Linked DNA regions of Homo sapiens: region 2 is linked to region 1. Evidence: promoter capture Hi-C in 16 types of primary human blood cells and fetal thymus (Javierre and others, 2016). All regions are on one chromosome and are shown on one strand. The core of a region is centred on a gene start or on the middle of the fragment in contact, and the rest is flanking DNA. Distances in the headings are between cores, read along the strand shown. Region 1 holds the start of C21orf91-OT1 (C21orf91 overlapping transcript 1). Region 2 has its middle 49 kb from the start of LINC01549.

Region 1 (4,584 bases), core at 2,085-4,584:
ATTTTGTAAAGTAAATTTCTAACACCAGAGAGATTAAGTTCAATGACCATAGTATACGCTACTGTTTTAAAGCAAGGTTCACACACACACACACACACACACACACACACACAAAATGGAACTGAACAAAAGTCACTACTTAATACTTTCTAAATTGCCTCTTTTGGAGGTACGGTGAAAGAAAAACATTCTAGATGCGTCTGAAAGAAACAAGGTACACACACTTACTAAAATTCCCCTTTGCTTTAGGTGTAGTTGAGGGAAGTTCAACTAATCTTTAAACCTTTTTTGGGAGAGGGCAATACTCATCTTCATGAATTTTTGTTTACTTTGGTAAACTTAAAATTGTGAAATAATTAAATATTATTAAAATGTATTAGTAATGTGGACTCAAACTAAAAAGAACAGGGAAAGTGTATGTTAACAAACTAGATGTTTTGGAGACTTGATATAATATGGTTCATATCAATGTTACCATAGCCAGAAGTTGCTTAATAGGTTAGACTGCACCATAATCAAGGCAATTATGAAAGGATGAAGTGAAATGAAAATACTGAGATGCAAGCATTATAGCCCTCCTCCAAGTTACCTTTATTTTGTGTGAGGGCTCTAGTATTCTGGTAAATAAACTCTTCCCTGCCCCATGACCACAAAACTTTACTTGGTAAGAATAAACTGTTGGGGGTTTTATCTCTTACTAATTCTCACCACAAATTTCCTCAAATAGTTACTCCCACCAACGTAAAAGTTAAAAATACAATCATACACTGAAACGGCATCAATTATCTTTGCCTTACATCTGAACAAAAAGTATTAACTTTTTTATAGCGTATTACACTTCTTAATAAGCACTTAGTAACAACATTTGTCAGTAAATGAACTGGCATACATCAGAAAAAGTTGACAATAGAAGAATTTTACATGGTACCATTTCAAATTTTCATGTACAAGTAACCCACTTTATGGTCACTAACCTGAACCTCCTAATAAGCTACACAAATAATTTACTCTTTAAAAATTCCTACTTTAGAGCATTTACATTTTATAATTTAATAATGAAAGCAGATTCTTCCAAAACAAAACAAAACCCAAACTGGGAAACATTAAAACACAAATAGATCTAAAAGCTTACTTTAAAAAAACTACAAAAATGGACTAACAAGCCTTACCAGTGTAAACACTAAGGTAAAAAATATATAAACAACATAAAGAAAACACAAAACCATTTTCAGTCATAAATATAGTAAAATGAAAAACCAAATCTCAAGATGCCTGTCAAGATATATTTGACTATATATTTTGACTATATTTCTGAAATCACTAACATGAACTTGACATTGAAAAAATAATCCTTAAATGTATATAAAAATGGGCACTTTGTGGTAAAATGAACATGTGTTTTGAAAAACTAAGAATGTGTCTTTGCTCCACCATTGTGCATAGTCAACGACACAACAAAACACTATTCTGCTGCCTGAATCATCTATTACTGGAGTCTCAAGTGCATGCCTTTTAAAAAAGACTAATTTAGATATTAATATGAGGATCAAAGGATAAGATGATAATCTCAAAGTAAAACATAATTGATTTTTAGCTTCATTATAAGGCTGAACTTTAAAGAGAACAACCTGTGTGGTCAAAAACACTTTTCTAATTTTTAAAACTCAATTTAACGTGTCAAATTATAAAACTGAACGTGAAAAAGATTTGTCTTATCTCACTCCCCTTAATCATATAAGCTCTGAAAATTTAGTAATGGATGACTGGCAGTCTGTTTTGCCACTTTTTAAACAGTAGTACATGAGATATGCTTCAAAACATTCTCAAAAATTACTAACAACTGTAGAGAATAGCCAAGTGTGGAAAACAATATTTGTGATATTTCATGTTCTCTTGTTAGAACTCAACTCTGTACCTGATACTTATATTTGCATACACAGTAATTGCATATTTGATTAAGAAAACTAACATAGGACTAAATTATAAGTTTACCAAACATTTGGATAAACTGCTGTGCAAAATACTTCAACAAAAAGTTTTTTTTACTAGGAACTCATCCAAATAAAGTAGTGTGAGTACCAGCACCACAAAGTTTTTTTTAAGAGCACCTCTCCTTTTTAGAGCTTAAGTAGAAATATCTAAATGGAATAAATCAGAGTCCCACTTAAGACCTTAGCACATGCACACGTTCATCCACTTGTTCCGTACTCATTAGCAAAGCTATGTATATTTGTCAGAAAACTCCTTTCTTTGGATAACACTGTTGTATTCAGGACTGCAACTTATGGCTCATATTCTGGAAATATGCTACTATTGATATCAAATGCAACATATCCCCAACTTTTATGACTGTCCCTAACTCATCTAAACACAAACCCAAATGTGTGCAAACACACTGGCTGGTAACAATCTTACTGAATTACGCCAAAAAAGAGTAAAGTCAAATTTGAAAATGTGGGAACAATTAAGCACTAAGATATTAATCAGGAAATGTATTTACCCAGCTTGTAAGTTTGAATATTTTGATATTGCACACATTTAATTTAAAGCTCATCAAAACTAAGGCAATGCATCCATACTCCCTGGATTTTAAATTCATTTTGCATGACTTAAAGAATTGAGAGAAATCGAAAGCATCTTTCAAAAATTCCCTCCAAAAAGTAATGTTATACTTCAAAGAAAAACAAAATCAACAGATATCAATTAATACCCTCAGGCCAATTTAACACGTCAGCATTACAAAAAGTTGTTTTCAATTAAACTGAAGTGTTTCTTTGCTTAAATACTTTCTTGTGTTCAACAACAAAATCTGACCCAAGCCAGGGTAGGCTGCCAAATTTAAGGCAAATGTCATTTATATCTTTATGCATGAAGCTGCCACGTTACTGGGCTTTTCAGCAGATACTTTCAAGCAAGGATCTACCTCATAAGTACATTCTAAACATGAGTTAAAAACAGAATTTAGAGCCCATTTTAATTCTGCATTGGTTATAGCCTTTACTGTAATACATTATTAAAATTTATCTAGCTGTTTGGCACAATCTGTTAGATAAAAACTCTTTGGAAGCATCATAGGCAACTTACGAGAACATTCTCTTAATACATAGGTTTATTTTTTTTTAATTAGGAGTTTTGCTTTTCTTCTGTAGAACAATCCTATATTTCTCTATAGAGTCTAAAGTTTAGAAAAATACCTCACAATGCTTTCTTTGAGCACTAAGTTCAATGATGGTGATAATACAATTTGGACAGTTTAAGTATTCTTGAAACTTTACCCAAAGTGGCACACAAAATAATCTTACTTTTTTTTTTCAAAGACAGAACAATTTCACAGCACACTCAATTTGAAGATAGACATTATATTTGAATTGGAAGTGAGGCTTGACTTACTCTGTCCAAATTCTAATGCATCACAGTCACTGGTGTGAAGCTAATAATGAAAGAAGCAAGAGGAGGCTTTCATTTCTATGGAGACAAATTGACATAGAAGCCAGATTAGTCTTTTCTTCCTGAACTAAGAACTGCTTTTGTTAGAAAACAAAATAATGTATTGTATTTACCTGAATACTGCTTTAAAAAGTTATTAATTCTTCTTTTACAAGAGGTATTAGAAATTAAAACAACTCAGATTTCTAATCCAAAATATATTTATCTTTGGAAAGCAAGGTAACCGTTGTGAAAACATTGTATTAAGAGAATAAAATGCAGTGACCTGAAATATGGGTGAACATATTCACACATGATAATGTAAATAAATATACAGAACCACTCAAATACACATTTATAAAGAGAATGGCAAAGTACCTAAAATAGCATTTTCACATATAAAATTTTTATATTAAAATATTGCTCATAATAAATAAGAGGTGATATGAATTCCATTTCCCTCTTAAAAATTATCTCTAGTAGTTTACACTAAGGAGTTAATCTGTTGTTTTGACAGGTGAATTAAAATGTTTAATAAAATGACACTGTAACAGTATATTTAAGTAGTCACATGTGATAAAATTTGTTTAGTAATTCTGGGAAAAAAGAGTCCCCAAATGAGCCAAAATGATTAGCCCTAGAAGACTAGAGTATAATGATCTGCTTTATTTGACAAAGATGTTAAATACTGCCTTATGTTTGGCAAATTTAATGACCATAAAAAAACGGACCACAACTTTCTTCAAACTTCTTCAAAGTTTGCATGTCTGGGAGACCAATAAAGGGCAGGGCATACGAAGTAAGTCTGTTTAGGTCAGTTGTTTATGGGTAGGTGCGACTTCATTCCTGTTCGCCCTACTTGCAGACATGGTAACTTAGAACAGTTCTTCAGAAGCTGTTCGATGGCAACGTGGCGGACATGGAGCTGTGAGGCCAAAGAATCTTTTTCTTGCACTTGGTGAGTTAACTCTTCAAAAACTTCTGTAAAAGATTTAAAAACTTTCATTTTTAGTATGCAGAAAGCCGGTGCTATGATTTATATTTCAAGAACTCTAACTGAAATCTATGCATTGGGCAAAGTGTCACAATGAAACTGATTTGATACCAAGGAAACAGTTCTGTTCTCTACAAAGCATATCAGTTCTGATCATCCTAGGC
Region 2 (4,181 bases), core at 584-3,083, 400 kb before region 1:
AGATGAGAATTATTGTATATTCCTAAAAAATTAAGAGAAAAAACATTTAGCAACTATCTTTAACTTAATTACTGATGAGGTACCCAAATTTTGTCAGTGTATGGCACAGTTAGTGTCTCAGTAACTTTTTTCGCATGCTCCAAAAAAAAAAAAGTTCTGTTTATTACATAGTTAGGTTTATGCAACTTAAGAAGTATTTACATTCTAACAACTTACTCGCTGTTTGAAAAAATTACACACATAAACAAATGGGAAAAAAAATTTTTTTTTTTGAGACAGGGTCTCACTGTGTCACCCAGGCTGGACCTAGGCTCCAGTGACCCAAGCTCACTGCAGCCTCGACCTACTGGGCTCAAGTGACCCTCCCACTTCAGCCTCCCAAGTAGCTGGGACTACAGGTGCACACCACCACTCCCTGCTAATTTTTTTTTTTTTTAATTGTAGAGACAATGTCTCATTATGTTGCCCAAGTTGGTCTCAAACTCCTGGGCTCAAGCCGTCCTCCCATCTTGGCCTCCTAAAGTGATGGGATTACAGGCATGAGCCACTGTTCCTGGCCTATTTCATTATCTCACACTGACTATATTAGTTACCCATTGCTTCATAACAAATTACCCCCAACATTTAGTGGCTTAAACAACAAGTCGTTATTATCTCATAGTTTCTGTGGGTCAGGGATGCCAGAGGAGCTTATCTGGATGGCTGTCGCTCAGGATCCCTAATGAGGTTGCCTTCATGATGGTGGCCGGGGATGCAGTCACCAGAAAGGTTACCTGAGGCTGGAGGACCCACTTCTAAGATGGTTCATTCCCATGGCTATTGGCCAGTGGCATCAGCTCCCTGCTGGCTTTTTGCAAAAGAGCTCATTTCCTCTCCACATGGCACACCCACAGGGCTGCTTGAGCATCTTCACATGCTCAAGCCGTGAAGCAGCTGGCTTCCCCAAAACTGAGTGATCAACAGGAAAAAGCAAAGAGGAAGATGAAACGCCTTGTATGATCTAGACTTCTGAGTCTCACACTTGCCCTTCTGCCACATTCTAGTTTTCAAAAGCTAGTTACTAAGTCCAGCCCATATTCAAAGGGAAAGGAATTAGGATTCATCCATTAAAGGGAAGATTGTTAAAGAATTTTGGATACATTTTAACACCATCACAGTTACCAGTGAGGTACATGCACCTATTGGGCACTAGACACCCAACCTTTAGAACCAAATTCACCACCACCACCCTTATTTCCCGTTCCATGTTAATTGTCATATAGTATCTATTTTTTATCACAGCAACTTCTGAAAACCCAGCTTCCAAAGATATGTCTTTTAGAAAAGCATTACAGCACAATCTAAGGTTTAAATTATAAGGTATTTTGAGCCAGTAGTTCATGCAGCAGCCAACAAATGTTTCTGTGTTTTTCTTGAGAATTTTCAATATGTCGTGTGGCCCCTGTGAGGTCACTGCAACTTCTTGGGGTGCCTCAGTGCACAATTTGGGAATCATAAGCTTAATTATCTTTTTCTCAGAGATAAAAATGTAGAGTATGTTTAAAGAAGTCTTTCTAAATACATCAATAATTTCTCTATTATTCATACTCTGGGGATATTATAAAGGAGGCTATTTCTATTCATAGTATGGAAACAAAATGAAAATTTTATTACTTTATAAGTATTTATTTAATATAAAAATATTCTAAGGGCTGGACCTCTTTCCTTTGCCCATTTTAATTGAACAATGGATGGACTATGAAGAAAAAGTAATCCAAGAATAAAAAAATACAAATCAAAGGTTCAGTTTGAAAAAAAATTATCATCCAAGAAATAATCATTTCCTTTTTATATTAAAAAATGTTCTCTTTATTCTCATTTCCCAATATAATAATATTTTAGTGTTAGCCTGGAGTCTGTGCCAAATGATTACACAGTATGTCTACTTCCTGACCCATAGGGAGTTAATCTTCGATAAAAAACAAGCTCAGGTAATGAAAGATCTTCCTGTTAATTGCAAGTGATAGGAAACACACACACACATTTCTCTTACTCCTTCCTGAAACCCCACTAAAATAACAAAAATGATGTGAAAGGGCATAATTCCACAAAAATGAGGAGAACAGAAAAGGTGATTATAGAAGATGATTACTGTACACCAAAAAAAGATGATTATTGTACACAAAATGAAAAGCTTATAACCTTTGGTAAATGGCTTTGGACTCATATATCTCTGCTCTGCTGAGTACCTGAAAAAGAAAAAAACAACTAGAAGAAAGTTGATTCATGAACTCAGAAAACTTCTATCAATAGAGGAACCAGGGGCCTCTGAAGGTGTTAAGTTTGCAAGTAGGGCTGAAAACAGAAGAATTTGTTAAAAGTCTGAAAAAGGAGGTAACAGACTCTTCAGTCTCCTCCCACCGTCCATGCAGGCAGGTGACTACATGTCACAAAAGATGGTAGGTTTCTTATTAATAACATAGACGTTCATTGGATAACATAGATGTTCAATCAGTCTATTTTCAGAAGAGTGAGATTTCTAGTTCCCTTCTGGTAGTAGGCCCTCAGAACAATGACTGTTAGACTTATACTCCATCATAGGAGATAATGAAAATGTCCTTTAGGGAAACTGTCTAGCCCTATGAATACCGACAGCCAAGAATCCCCCAAGACAGCCAGCTCCTGCCTGAGCTCTCTACAGTAAAACCTGACACACTTGATAAGCTTCACAGGAACATGGGACTTCTTTTTTTTTTTTTTTTTTTTTTTTTTTTGATGGAGTCTCACTCTGTCTCCCAGGCTGGTGTGCAGTGGCGCAATCTCAGCTCACTGCAAGCTCCGCCTCCCGGGTTCACGCCATTCTCCTGCCTCAGCCTCCCCAGTAGCTGAGACTACAGGTGCCCGCCACCAAGCCCAGCTAATTTTTTGTATTTTTAGTAGAGACAGGGTTTCACCATGTTAGCCAGGATGGTCTCGATCTCCTGACCTCGTGATCCGCCCACCTCGGCCTCCCAAAGTGCTGGGATTACAGGAGTGAGCCACCGCGCCCTGCCTGAATATGGAACTTCTAATCAGGATTTACTGCCACTCTTTATAAAAAATAATTTATTTTAAAATAACTTACATAAAAACTTTCAGATCAGAACAAAGAATTCTTGTATCCCTTTCATTCAGATTGTCCAAACATTAACATTTTTCTGAATATGCATGGACACCAACCCCGTCTCTCTGTGTATATGTAGGGAGAGGAAGTGATCCATTATCATTAGTCATACTCTGAACTTTTTAAGAGAAAGCTTCAGACACGATGTCCCATTATCCCTAAATAATCCAGTGTGTATTTCCCCAAAACAAGAAAACTCTCCCATTCAAATTTTGCCAACTGTCCAAAACTCTCTCTTTTTCCTTTCTGGTTCAGGATTGTTCCAAGGAATATATGTTGCATGTAGTTCTTATGTCTCATCATATTCATTCAGCTTAAAACAATAATTCTGCCTTTGATGTCCTTAACCATTTTTAAAGAGTAAAAGCGGCCTGGTGCAGTGGCTCATGCCTGTAATCCCAGAACTTTGGGAGGCTAAGGCGGGCGGATCACGAGCTCAAGTGATCGAGACCATCCTGGCCAACACGGTGAAACCCCATCTCTACTAAAAATACAAAAAAACTAGCTGGGTGTGGTGGGGCGTGCCTGTAGTCCCAGCTACTCAGGAGGCTGAGGCATGAGAATCCCTTGAGCCGATGAGGCAGAGGTTGCAGTGAGCCGAGATCGTGCCACTGCACTCCAACCTGGTGACAGAGCGAGACTCCATCTCAAAAAAATAAAATTGAATTAAAATAAAGAGTAAAAGCTTCATATTCCATGTAATGACCATCACAGTGTTTCTCGGGAGCAGACACAGGACAGGTATCCTTCACAGGAATATTACGGAAACTATGCTATGCTTTTCCCACTGTATCTCATCAGGATGTACAAACTTAGCAAAGAAAACACACACACACACACACACACACACACACACACACACACACACAAAATATTAAGCCTGAGAAGTATAAGTACAAGGAAAGTACAAGAAAGGAAATGAAGCCAGAGTTTACTACGATAAAGAACTGGGAATGGTCTGAGACTTCATCTTATTTGCAAGCCAACAAGTTAGCCTGCCATAGTTTCATGGATGCTGGGGAAAGACCTGAGACTCCCA

What was found. Contacts are between HindIII fragments. The CHiCAGO score rates a contact against its expected background, and 5 or more counts as called.
Region 2: a fragment that was not itself captured here is called in contact with the fragment with the promoter of C21orf91-OT1 in region 1 in 1 of 17 cell types (M0 macrophages); the score reaches 6.4 in M0 macrophages.

The regions. Positions count from the first base shown.
Region 1 is chr21:17,789,175-17,793,758 of GRCh38, forward strand. C21orf91-OT1 (C21orf91 overlapping transcript 1) reads right to left here and starts at 3,335. Exons shown (of 4, transcript NR_038871.1): 1 at 3,303-3,335. It overlaps C21orf91 (chromosome 21 open reading frame 91), which reads right to left. Exons shown (of 5, transcript NM_001100420.2): 5 at 1-4,407. The coding sequence ends at 4,241. All of the region lies in intron 2 of LOC124900465 (a long non-coding RNA gene), which reads left to right. The HindIII fragment of the contact is 3,892 bases long and covers 1,126-4,584 here.
Region 2 is chr21:17,387,542-17,391,722 of GRCh38, forward strand. No RefSeq gene overlaps it. Among named protein-coding and RNA genes, the nearest start is that of LINC01549, 49 kb to the right of the region's middle. The HindIII fragment of the contact is 675 bases long and covers 1,497-2,171 here.